2 separate regions of the Homo sapiens genome follow, and region 2 is linked to region 1. Evidence: promoter capture Hi-C in human tissues and cell types (Jung and others, 2019). All regions are on one chromosome and are shown on one strand. The core of a region is centred on a gene start or on the middle of the fragment in contact, and the rest is flanking DNA. Distances in the headings are between cores, read along the strand shown. Region 1 holds the start of ZNF704 (zinc finger protein 704). Region 2 holds the start of MIR5708 (microRNA 5708).

The links. The method cuts DNA at HindIII sites, captures the fragments that hold promoters and counts their contacts. A contact is called where the count stands out against the background at its distance.
Region 2: a contact is called between a fragment that was not itself captured here and the fragment with the promoter of ZNF704 in region 1, in 1 of the 25 tissues and cell types used here (heart left ventricle).

Annotation. Positions count from the first base shown.
Region 1 is chr8:80,873,377-80,878,310 of GRCh38, forward strand. It overlaps ZNF704 (zinc finger protein 704), which reads right to left and starts at 1,405. Exons shown (of 9, transcript NM_001033723.3): 1 at 1,195-1,405. RefSeq lists a silencer at 84-284. The HindIII fragment of the contact is 4,011 bases long and covers 1-3,415 here.
Region 2 is chr8:80,238,023-80,242,798 of GRCh38, forward strand. MIR5708 (microRNA 5708) reads left to right here and starts at 3,367; the gene lies at 3,367-3,451. RefSeq lists silencers at 2,713-2,772, 2,783-2,862. The HindIII fragment of the contact is 5,704 bases long and covers 1-4,776 here.

The DNA.
Region 1 (4,934 bases), core at 155-2,654:
TCGCGCTGCCCCGCGCGGCCGCCCGCGCCGCCTGACACACCCCTCCTGGCCGGGTCTCTCCCCGGCGCCGCTGACCGTCCTCGGCCAGGCGCCTTGCCCCGGGGCCCGGGCCCGTCCCCCTCCCCGGGCTGGCGGGTCCCACGCGCGCCACCGCGCCCAACACGCACCTTCAACGCGCCCCGGGCCGGGCCCCTGGGGACTGCGTGGCCGGGTCCGAGGGGCACGAAACGCTCCTCGCCGTCCTCGTCGTCTTCGTCGCCGTCCACCACCTCGACGACCACCTCCTCGTCCTCCTCTTCCTCGTCGTCATCCTCCTCCTCCGCGCCCCCTCGGGGCTTCTCCTCCACACGCCCGAGCCCCCTCCGCCGCCTGCTCCCGCCCTCCTCGTCCTCGTCTTCCTCCCCTAGAAGCAGCAGCACCGGCGACGAGGCGGCGGCGGCGGCCCCGGTGGCCCGAGGGGGGCCGGTCCCGGCGCTGCGCGGCGGCGGCGGCAGCGGCGGCCTCCAGCTCTCCGGGGCGGGCGCCGGGGCCGGGCCCGGGACAGGGGGCGGGAGCCCGGGTAGGGCGGCTTCCTTGGCGGGCGCGGGCGCCGGCCCGGCAGGCTGCAGCGCGGCGCCCCCCCGGCGGCTGCCCAGGCTGGAGCGCTTGGCTAGACGCCGCGCCTGCATGCCTGAGCGCGGGGTTGCGGGCCGCGGCGCGGGGCCGGAGAGTTTGTCACCTCCTCTTCCTCCTCTGCCTCCGCCGGTGGCCGCAGGGCCGGGGACTCGCGGCCGCAAGGGGCTGCAGGAGCCGCCGGCCAGGACCCGCGGCTGCCACTGGCTGCAGAGGCGCGGGCGCCGCCTTCGCTGGACCGGCCGGCGGGGACGCCGGCGGCCGGCGGCTACGGCGGGGCGGCGCGGCGGCCGCGGGCGGGGGTGGGTGTGAGCGAGCGGCGCGCTGCCGCCTCCGCCGCCGCCGCCGCCGCCCGGGAGCCGCGGGCCGCGCTGCGCTCCATGCGGCCGGCGGCCGAGCCCGCGCGCGCCTCTCCCGGCCGGCTGCGCCCGCGCGCTCCGGGCCTACCGCTGCCGTGCCTCGGCGCGAGCTGTTTGTGTTGTATGTTTTCCACCACCGCCCCCCTCTTCGCGAGCCATTCCTCACAACCCTCCGGTCCCCCCGCTCAGACAAAACCCGGACTGGATTTTTTTTTTCTCTTACCCACAGTCTCCGAAAGTCTGGCGCTTCGAAGCAGTTGGCCCTGACACCAGGGCAAACGCTTAACCGCAGCCCATTCTTCCCTCCGGAGGGAGGGGAGTAGACTTCGCTGGAAGTAAGGTTGTCTGTCAAAGTTAGACTTTGAACGTAGAGATTTGCTACAAGTCATTTTAATGGACACTGATGTGCATGGCAGCTACTCCTGAGCTTGTGTGAAATCAAGGAAGGTGTACCAATCTGAGGTTTGGGATGAATTCCTAATATGAATCATCAGAGTCGCTTAGATTTTCGAAACACTGTTTCATGAGCGATTGTCTACCAATCTCACACTCTTTGAACGCACCACTCTAGGCCCTGCGATTGAGCTGCCTTGGCTCTGTGCTGAGTGTGTAGGTCTTTCAGCTTTTACTCCTGCTATTCTACCTTGAGTGCCTGATTTTAATGGCTGAATTCCAAGAAGCTTTCTGTTTGCACTGTCTGATCTGTAGACTCTCTTCTGGCATTGTTCAGGACTTTGAAGAAACAAATGGGTGGGAGTTCAAGATCGTTTGAGTTGGTTACTTAAGAAATTAATATGAAGTAAGACCAAATCTGGAAATCAAGCACATAACATGACTAATTTTGCCATTTTCTGACGATTTTTAGGTGTGATAAAGAAAATATATTTGCTATTGCGTGGGGTTAGGCTATGTAGTAAGTGGTATTTCTTCTTTTATTTATTTTAATTTTTATTTATATATATTTCTTTATTTTTCAGATGGAGTTTCGCTCTTGTTGCCAAGGCTGGAGTGCAATGTCATGGTCTGGGCTCACTGTAACCTCCGCCACCTGGGTTCAAGCGATTCTCCTGCCTCAGCCTCCTGAGTACCTGGGATTAAAGGCGCGCTCCACCATGCCATGCTAATTTTGTATTTTTCGTAGAGACAGGGTTTCACCATGTTGGCCAGGCTGGTCTCAAACTCCTGACCTCAGATGATTTGCCTGCCTTGGCCTCCCAAAGTGCTGGGATTACAGGTGTGAGCCACCGTGCCCGGCCTTAAGTCGTATTTCTTACATTCAAATCATACCCCCAATTCCATCCCTGTAGAGGAGGGCTGGGGAGGATCTTACGCATCAAATACCCTGGTAGGCACCTCCGTGGGGCCAGAATAAAAGGTGTATTCACCTTCAGTTAATTATTGTTGGACATTTAACATCATATGCTCTGTTAGACACTTGAATGGGGCTCATTAAATGCTCACTTATGGTGGCTTCCAACTGTTGAACAGGGATGATGACAAAGATTCTAAAATGAACTTTTTGTTCTCCCTGAATCAGATTAGCTTCCTGATGTACCTATTTCAGGTGATGAAACTCTCATTATAATCATTTGAGCCCAAAATAGCGGTATCATTTTAACTCCCTTCTCTACCTTATCCCTAGAGGCAATTGCCCACAAGTCCAACCCATTGTTCTTTCTAAAATGCATTTTGAATCCACCCCTTCCTTTCCATTCCCAAAGCTCTTACAGCATTTTGTGACTTCAAAAGTGGAAGTTTCTAACAGTTCTACACACCCATTTTCTCACCCACACACCCTCCCTTTCCCTCCTCAGATGCCACCACCAGATTTATGTTTCCGAAACCCCATTTAGATCACACCATTTTCTTGTTGGACTTTATATTTGTAAATATTCTGTTCAGGAATTCAGAGAGAAGAAAACAGAACATTAAGAGATGGGTGTGTCTGATCAAAGCATGGAATAGCAGGGGCTAGCCAATAAGTGAATAATCAGTATCAGCTAGAGTGTGCAAAGAATTAAGAAAGAACATTAAGGTGGTTTCATCCCAATTGGAAGAAATTTAGCTTCGTTGATTTGGGAGATGATTTTAGAGTGAGGCAGCAGGATCTTTCTCTGGCCATGAAAAGGAAAGATCGGGGCAAGGGGTGGGCAGACAGGTATGGAGGAGGTGGAGGAGGACAAAGGTGTGAGGCAAGCTGGCTAGTAGTTAGGCACATGGTCTCAGGAGCACCTAGGTCCGAATCCTGACTCTGGAACTTACCAGCTTTACTTTTACTCATCCTCTTTCTGTGCCTGTTTCCTCATCTGTGAAATGGGGATCATAGTAGTAAAGTTGTTTTGCAGAGTAATGAGTGAATAAATGCAATCAGCTTACAAGAGTGCCTGGGACAAGCTAGGGTTTATATGCGGGCTTATCATACTAAACATTGTAATGGTAGGTAAACAAGGTGGCTTGGGATACTCTCAGAGAATAACAAGGTAGCTCTCTTTTAAGTAAGCTCAGTAATGTCAGTAACTAGCAAAATGTGCTTTTAAAGACCAACAACTTGTCATCGGAGGACCATGGTCAGGCCAAGCATGTAGCTTTTTGTGCCTAAAATTGCTATAGATGAAAGAAAGTAAATGTTTTCCTGAGAACCTAGAGGAAATACAGAGTTAAATGAATTGGTGATTGGCATTTGTGACTTAGTGAAAGATGATACACTATTGTACATTCTTTTAAAATTGCTGTATATGCTTTGAAATCAGCTTATTGTTTCTCTTAGGCCACTTCAATAGACTTCATAGACATCCATTCCCTGGCCCCACATTGCTGGAAAGGCTGCCTCTGAATGGGAAAAAAAAAAAAAAAAAAAAAAAAAAAAGACCTGGCCTTGGCTTTCAAACCATTAAATGAAGGCTAATGTCAAAAAAGAGGTTTCACCCAAGCTGGGCTTTGAGGGATGAGAAGGATCTGTTCAGGCAGGGAGAGCAGCATTGTCTAGGCAAGTGCAGGCCACTGAAGACCACCCTCATTAAATCAGAGGACACTTAGTGGGAATAAAATCAAATTAACTCATCAGGAATCAAGAAAAGATCTCATGATGTGGGCACATGACACACTACATGCATGACATGGGCTCAGAAGTCAAAAAGTATCTTGTGATGCCAAGCAAGTGGGGAAGAGTCATTGCTGCTTCTTTCCCCCACATTCCCTAAGTGTAACACATTTTTTTCTTCCAAAACTGGGAGCGCTTGCCACTCAGAATGAGGAAATGTGCCTCTGAGCCATGGGATAAAGAAGGAGCCCCTCCAGAACAGTTGGATTGAACACATCCTCATCTAAAACATTTCATCGTTCATTCTGCATGGATTTGTTGAGTCCTGACAAGTGCCAGGTCTTGTTCTTGGTGCTGGCGTGCAGCAGCGAACAAAATAACCCTCCCTCGGGGAGGAAGCAGACAATAATCAAAGAAGATAAGTGAACAATATGATTTTGTGGAGGCATTAAGTGTCTACATGAAAAAGTAAGGGAAAAATAAAAGGAGGGGTAGAAGGTGCTGGAGGTTTAGTATAAAGAAATGTGCATTTCAAAGCGTATTTCTTTATATTAAAACAGACATAAGAATAGTGTGAAGTTTAGTGTGAACTTTGAATGAAAACTCGCAGCCCTGGACTCTGTCTTCTTCCTGCAGATAGAATCCATTCTCCCCTACTGTCCGCGTGCTTTGGTCAAAGTTTGAGAAGCACTGCTGCGGAAGAACGAGAGTAGGCTTTGGAGTGAGCATCACTCCCTAAACACATAGTAGCTGGCTGGCTCCTGTCTGGTTTCTTCAGATCTCCAGTGATTCTTAAACCTTTGAGTTCTGAGCCCTAAAGATAACTAAAACATTTTTTTTACATGTATCAGAAAGAAAGAGAAAGAAAGGAAGGAAGGAAGGAAGGAAGGAAGGAAGGAAGGAAGGAAGGAAGGAAGGAAGGA
Region 2 (4,776 bases), core at 1,155-3,654, 630 kb before region 1:
ATCTCAAAATAAATAAATAAAACACAGAGAATCAAGAAGGGAAATGATGTTCATTTGTGAATGTTCCAGTGCTTTCTGTGGGCCATGCATTGTGGCAAAACCATGACCAATGTGAAGAGGAGCCTTCAGCCAGCTCACAGTGCAGGGGAGTGGGGAGGTGAAAACAACAAGGAGACATTTTAGCTGGGGAAGAATAGCACCAAGAGAGCGACCCCTCACCTTTGTACTTTAAATGTGTTCCACTTCATTGAATGGGGGAAATGAGCCTGGCAGAAGTTGGAGATGAGACTAGTACAGTGTGGCCTCTGCACCCAGGGCTTGGAGTTAGAAGAGGGATGGGTGTTCTGGATCCACAGCAGTTGATGGAACTTGTGCCCTCCCCTGCCCATCCCCCAGCTGCGTTGGAAATGCCACCACACTGGGATCCCTGGCTAACACAGCTGAGTGAGACACTGAGGGAAGTAGCAACCCACCCTCCCATCTCGAGGAAATGTTGCTTTATGGTGCACGAGTGGTGGTGGCTGCAGTGGAGCAGGAGGCTTAGCCTGAGCATCATTCCATTTTGCCAGATTTCAGTAGCCGCATCAGAGCTCTGGTTTCAGTAACCATGGTGTCAGCTGTGGGACTCTGGAGGCATCCAGCACGAGGAGTGTAGACTCTTCCAGCCTCAGTTCCGGCTTCTGTAAGTGAGGTAAGTGTATCTGGGGCTACCCCTTCGGATATACATGTGCATTCCTGGCACTCAGGTTCATAGCAGGGGAGTGGCCTCTGTCAAGGGTGAAGAAGCCCATCAAGGAAGATGGGACACCATGTGGAATGACATCATTTATACCCCAAGCAAAGGAAGCAGGATGTGTGGATAACATATATATATAAATATAAAATATTACATTACAATATAACATAATCAGTGTAATAACAAATATGTATAGGACACTGTGGGTGGACCTAATCAAGGCCCTGTGTACAACTAACCAAGTTGACACTGCACATCTCCAAGCCACAGAACTGTGCAGTGTCTAAGGTGGCCCTGTACCTAACCAGTTATATGTTATTAGCCCCATGTTAAGAGGCAGTGGCATATTGTAGTGGACACTATGCACATTTAAAAGTATCTGCTGTGTGATCTTGGGCAAATTCTAATTGACGTTCTGTAAAATGGGAATATTACCTATTTTAATGTATTGTCGCATTGTGATAATACATGCAATGGCTTACCCAGCACTATTTCAGATACATAGTAAATTATTTTTAAAATGTTAGCAGATGTATTTAAGCACAGGGAAACAAACCCAGAAAGAATGATTTGACCACATCAAAACCAATGACAAAAGTGAAGCCCGAGCCTGAATCTTCTGATTTTCTATCCACCAGTGGGTTTTCTCCCAAGGAAGCAATTCCCAAGACAAGAATTGTTTGAGAAAACTGCAACTGGATTTGCCTATACATGCAGCAGTAAACTTCAGTGAGCACCTGACCCTATTTTCAGGAGCAGCAGAAAGGCACATTTACCCCACACAGGTAAGAAGTGGTTTTCCTCCTCTGTAGCCCTCCTTTCTCCGGCCTTCCATTGGAGATCGGAAAGTCTTAGGAAAATGAGAGAGTATGGGTCACTATTTTCTATTTTCAAGTTTTCAGATCTTTAATCTGCAAATTTAGGTGATCCCAGCTCCGGAAAGAGCATCACACTTTTTTTTTTTTTTTTTTTTGAGACAGAGCCTCAGTCTGTCGCCTAGGCTGGAGTGCAATGTCACAATCTCGGCTCACTGCAACCTCGACCTCCCGGGTTCAAGTAATTCTCCTGCCCCAGCCTCCTGAGTAGCAGGGACCACAGTACAGGCAGCGCCACCACGCCTGGCTAATTTTTGTATTTTTAGTAGAGACGGGGTTTTGCCATGTTGGCCAGGCTGGTCTCCTGACCTCAAGCTATCTGCCCAACTCGGCCTCCCAAAGTTCTGAGATTACAGCATGAGCCACCACGCCGGCCACTTTTGACTTTTTTGACCAGCAAGCTTCCATCTGGAGCCTAGGCTCTCTTCTTTAGGTGCCCACAGCCCCAGGGGTGCACAGGCTGCTGAGCAGCTGCGGGCCCGCGGGGCTGGGAGCCCACCAGGGCCGCGTGTCCTGTGTGGCGCACAGTCCCAGTCATCCTAGGAGGCAGCCCTGAGTTCACACCTTCTCGTTCCTCTTTGTCAGAGCTCGGTTAGTGAGTGGGACACTAAAATAGCACTGCAAACATAATGAGAAAATGAAAACTGAGTTTACCAGAACTGCTTTCAGAGAAAGAGCTGGAAGCATTGGAGGGAATTCTTTGATAAGCTGCTTTGAGATGTGGTGGTGGGGGTGATACTCTCATGGGGGCAAACCTAATCTGTAACAGCAAAAGATCACCAAGCTGCCTTCCAAAAATGTCCCTGGATTGCAAGGCTGTGTTTTCCCAAGAGAATGGAAATTTGCCTTCAAAGGAGAGTTTGGTCACTGTCCCCAGGGAGGCTTCTTCGCAGTCTTTCAACATTCGGCAGGAAACCTATCAGTGTCCGGGTGACTACCTATTAACCTGCCCTGATTATTAACTGTGCCCAGGTCGAGACAGCATCAGGGTTGTGGTTCTACCAGGCCGTCTCTTTGCAGTCCTCGGCTTCTGTCAAAGTTGAACGCCATCCACCTCCCTTTTGGTTCCAGCCACAGAGGCGTGCCTTCCACAGAGGCGTGCTCCGCAGCGCCGCCCTCCAGCACTCCGCGCATCGGCCCAGGGTGCTGCCTGGCTCCCAGGCGCCGCCCTGCGGCCCCGCGCGTCCGCCTTTCCCTTCAGCCAGCCCCTGTGCTTCCCAGGACTCTGCTCTGGGCTCTGTCCTCCGCTCAGGATTGAGAGTCAGGGAATACAGAGAGTCTCTAGCCACTGTTGTTGGAGAGACCGACAAGGAGATGTCTCAAATGCCTTCGGGTTCTCTTCCCTTTTTTCTTCTACCACGGCTGCAGGCTGAGAGAGAGTCTCAATGACAAGAATATTGTGATTCAAGGGAAGCTTCAGTCAAGGGTAGGGAGGAAATACAGCAGAACACTGGAGAGAAAAAGAAATAATCTGGCATTAAAAATCAAGTTGCTTTTTGTTTGTTTGTTTGTTTTGAGACAGGGTCTCACTTTTGTTGCCCAGGCTGATCATGGCCCATTGCAGCCTCAACCTCCCAGGCACAAGTGATCCTCCCATCACAGCCTCCTGAGCAGCTGGGACCAAAGGTGTGCACCACCAGGGCTAGCTAGTTTTTAAAAATATTTGTGGAGATGAAGTCTCACTATATTGCCCAGGCTGGTCTCTAATTCTCTGCCTCAAGCAGTCCTACCACCTCACCTTCCCAAAGTGCTGGTATTACAGACATGAGCGACTGTGCCTGACCAAAAGTCAACATTAAACAACAAATCTTGGCCAGGCACAGTGGCTCATGCCTGTAATCCCAGCACTTTGGGAGGCCGAAGTGGGCAGATCACTTGAGGTCAGGAGTTGGAGACCAGCCTAGCCAACATGGTGAAGCCCCGCCTCTACTAAAAATACAAAAATTAGCTGGGTGTGGTGGCACATGCCTGTAATCCCAGCTGAGGCATTAGAATCGCTTGAACCTGGGAGGCAGAGGTTGCAGTGAACCAAGATCTCACCACTTTTATCCAGCCTTGGCAACAGCGAGACTCTGTCTCAAAACAAACAAACAAACAAACAAACAAACAACAACAACAACAACAAAAAATAAATGTCCACAAGATTGCAGGATCCCTTCCAAGGATCACACTTATTGTGAGGGTAGTGGGCATAGGGACTTGGCTGGAAAGAATGAAAAACAGAGACTGTAACCCATTCTTGGTGAATAAGGTTGTCTTATACCTGTATATCCTTTCCAACAAACCTGAAAACACTTGACAGGACTTAGATTTGATTTCTGAAAATCATTCTTTTTTTTTTTCTTGAGACAGAGTTGCCCAGGCTGGAGTGCAGTGGTGCGATCTCAGCTCACTGCAACCTCTGCCTCCCAGGCTCAAGCGATTCCCCTGCCTCCGCCTCCTGAGTAGCTGGGATTACAAGCGCCTGCCACCGCACCCAGCTAATTTTGTATTTTTAGTAGAGATGTGATTTTGCCATGTTGGCCAGGCTGGTCTCGAACTCCTGACCTCAGGTGATCTGCCCGCCTTGGCCTCCCAAAGTGCTGGGATTACAGGCGTGAGCCACCAAGCTGGGCCCTGAAAATCGTTCTTTAAGTTTGAATATGTGTATATAAAAATTACTCTTTTTATTTTAATGATTAGCTTTCCCCCCAAATTTCTCTGCTTTTTCAGTTACAGATTTTTTTCCATTTTCTATTTTCCTGTGCCTGTTGTAATTTTCTATTTTCTTCTTAGAAAACATATCTTTCTGGACAGGCATGGTGGCAGGTAACTGTAGTCCCAGCTACTTGGGAGGCTGAGGCAGGAGGATCCCTAGAATTCAGAAGTTCAATGTCAGCCTGGGCAACATAGCAAGATCCCATCTCTAAAATAAATATAAATATATATGTGTATATATATAATATACATATATATTATATAGCCCTTTCTTTTGGAACTTGGAATTCTTCAAATTATATTTTGATTTTTTTTTCATGTACTGGCACTATACATATTTGGATTTGGCACCTGCTATCTTTATTTATAATTCAGGATCCCAAACTCTTTGTCAGCTTTGCTTGCCTGTGAATTTCCACCAAAATACTAGTCATTAGGAGGCAGAGATACTATGATTGATGATAAAGT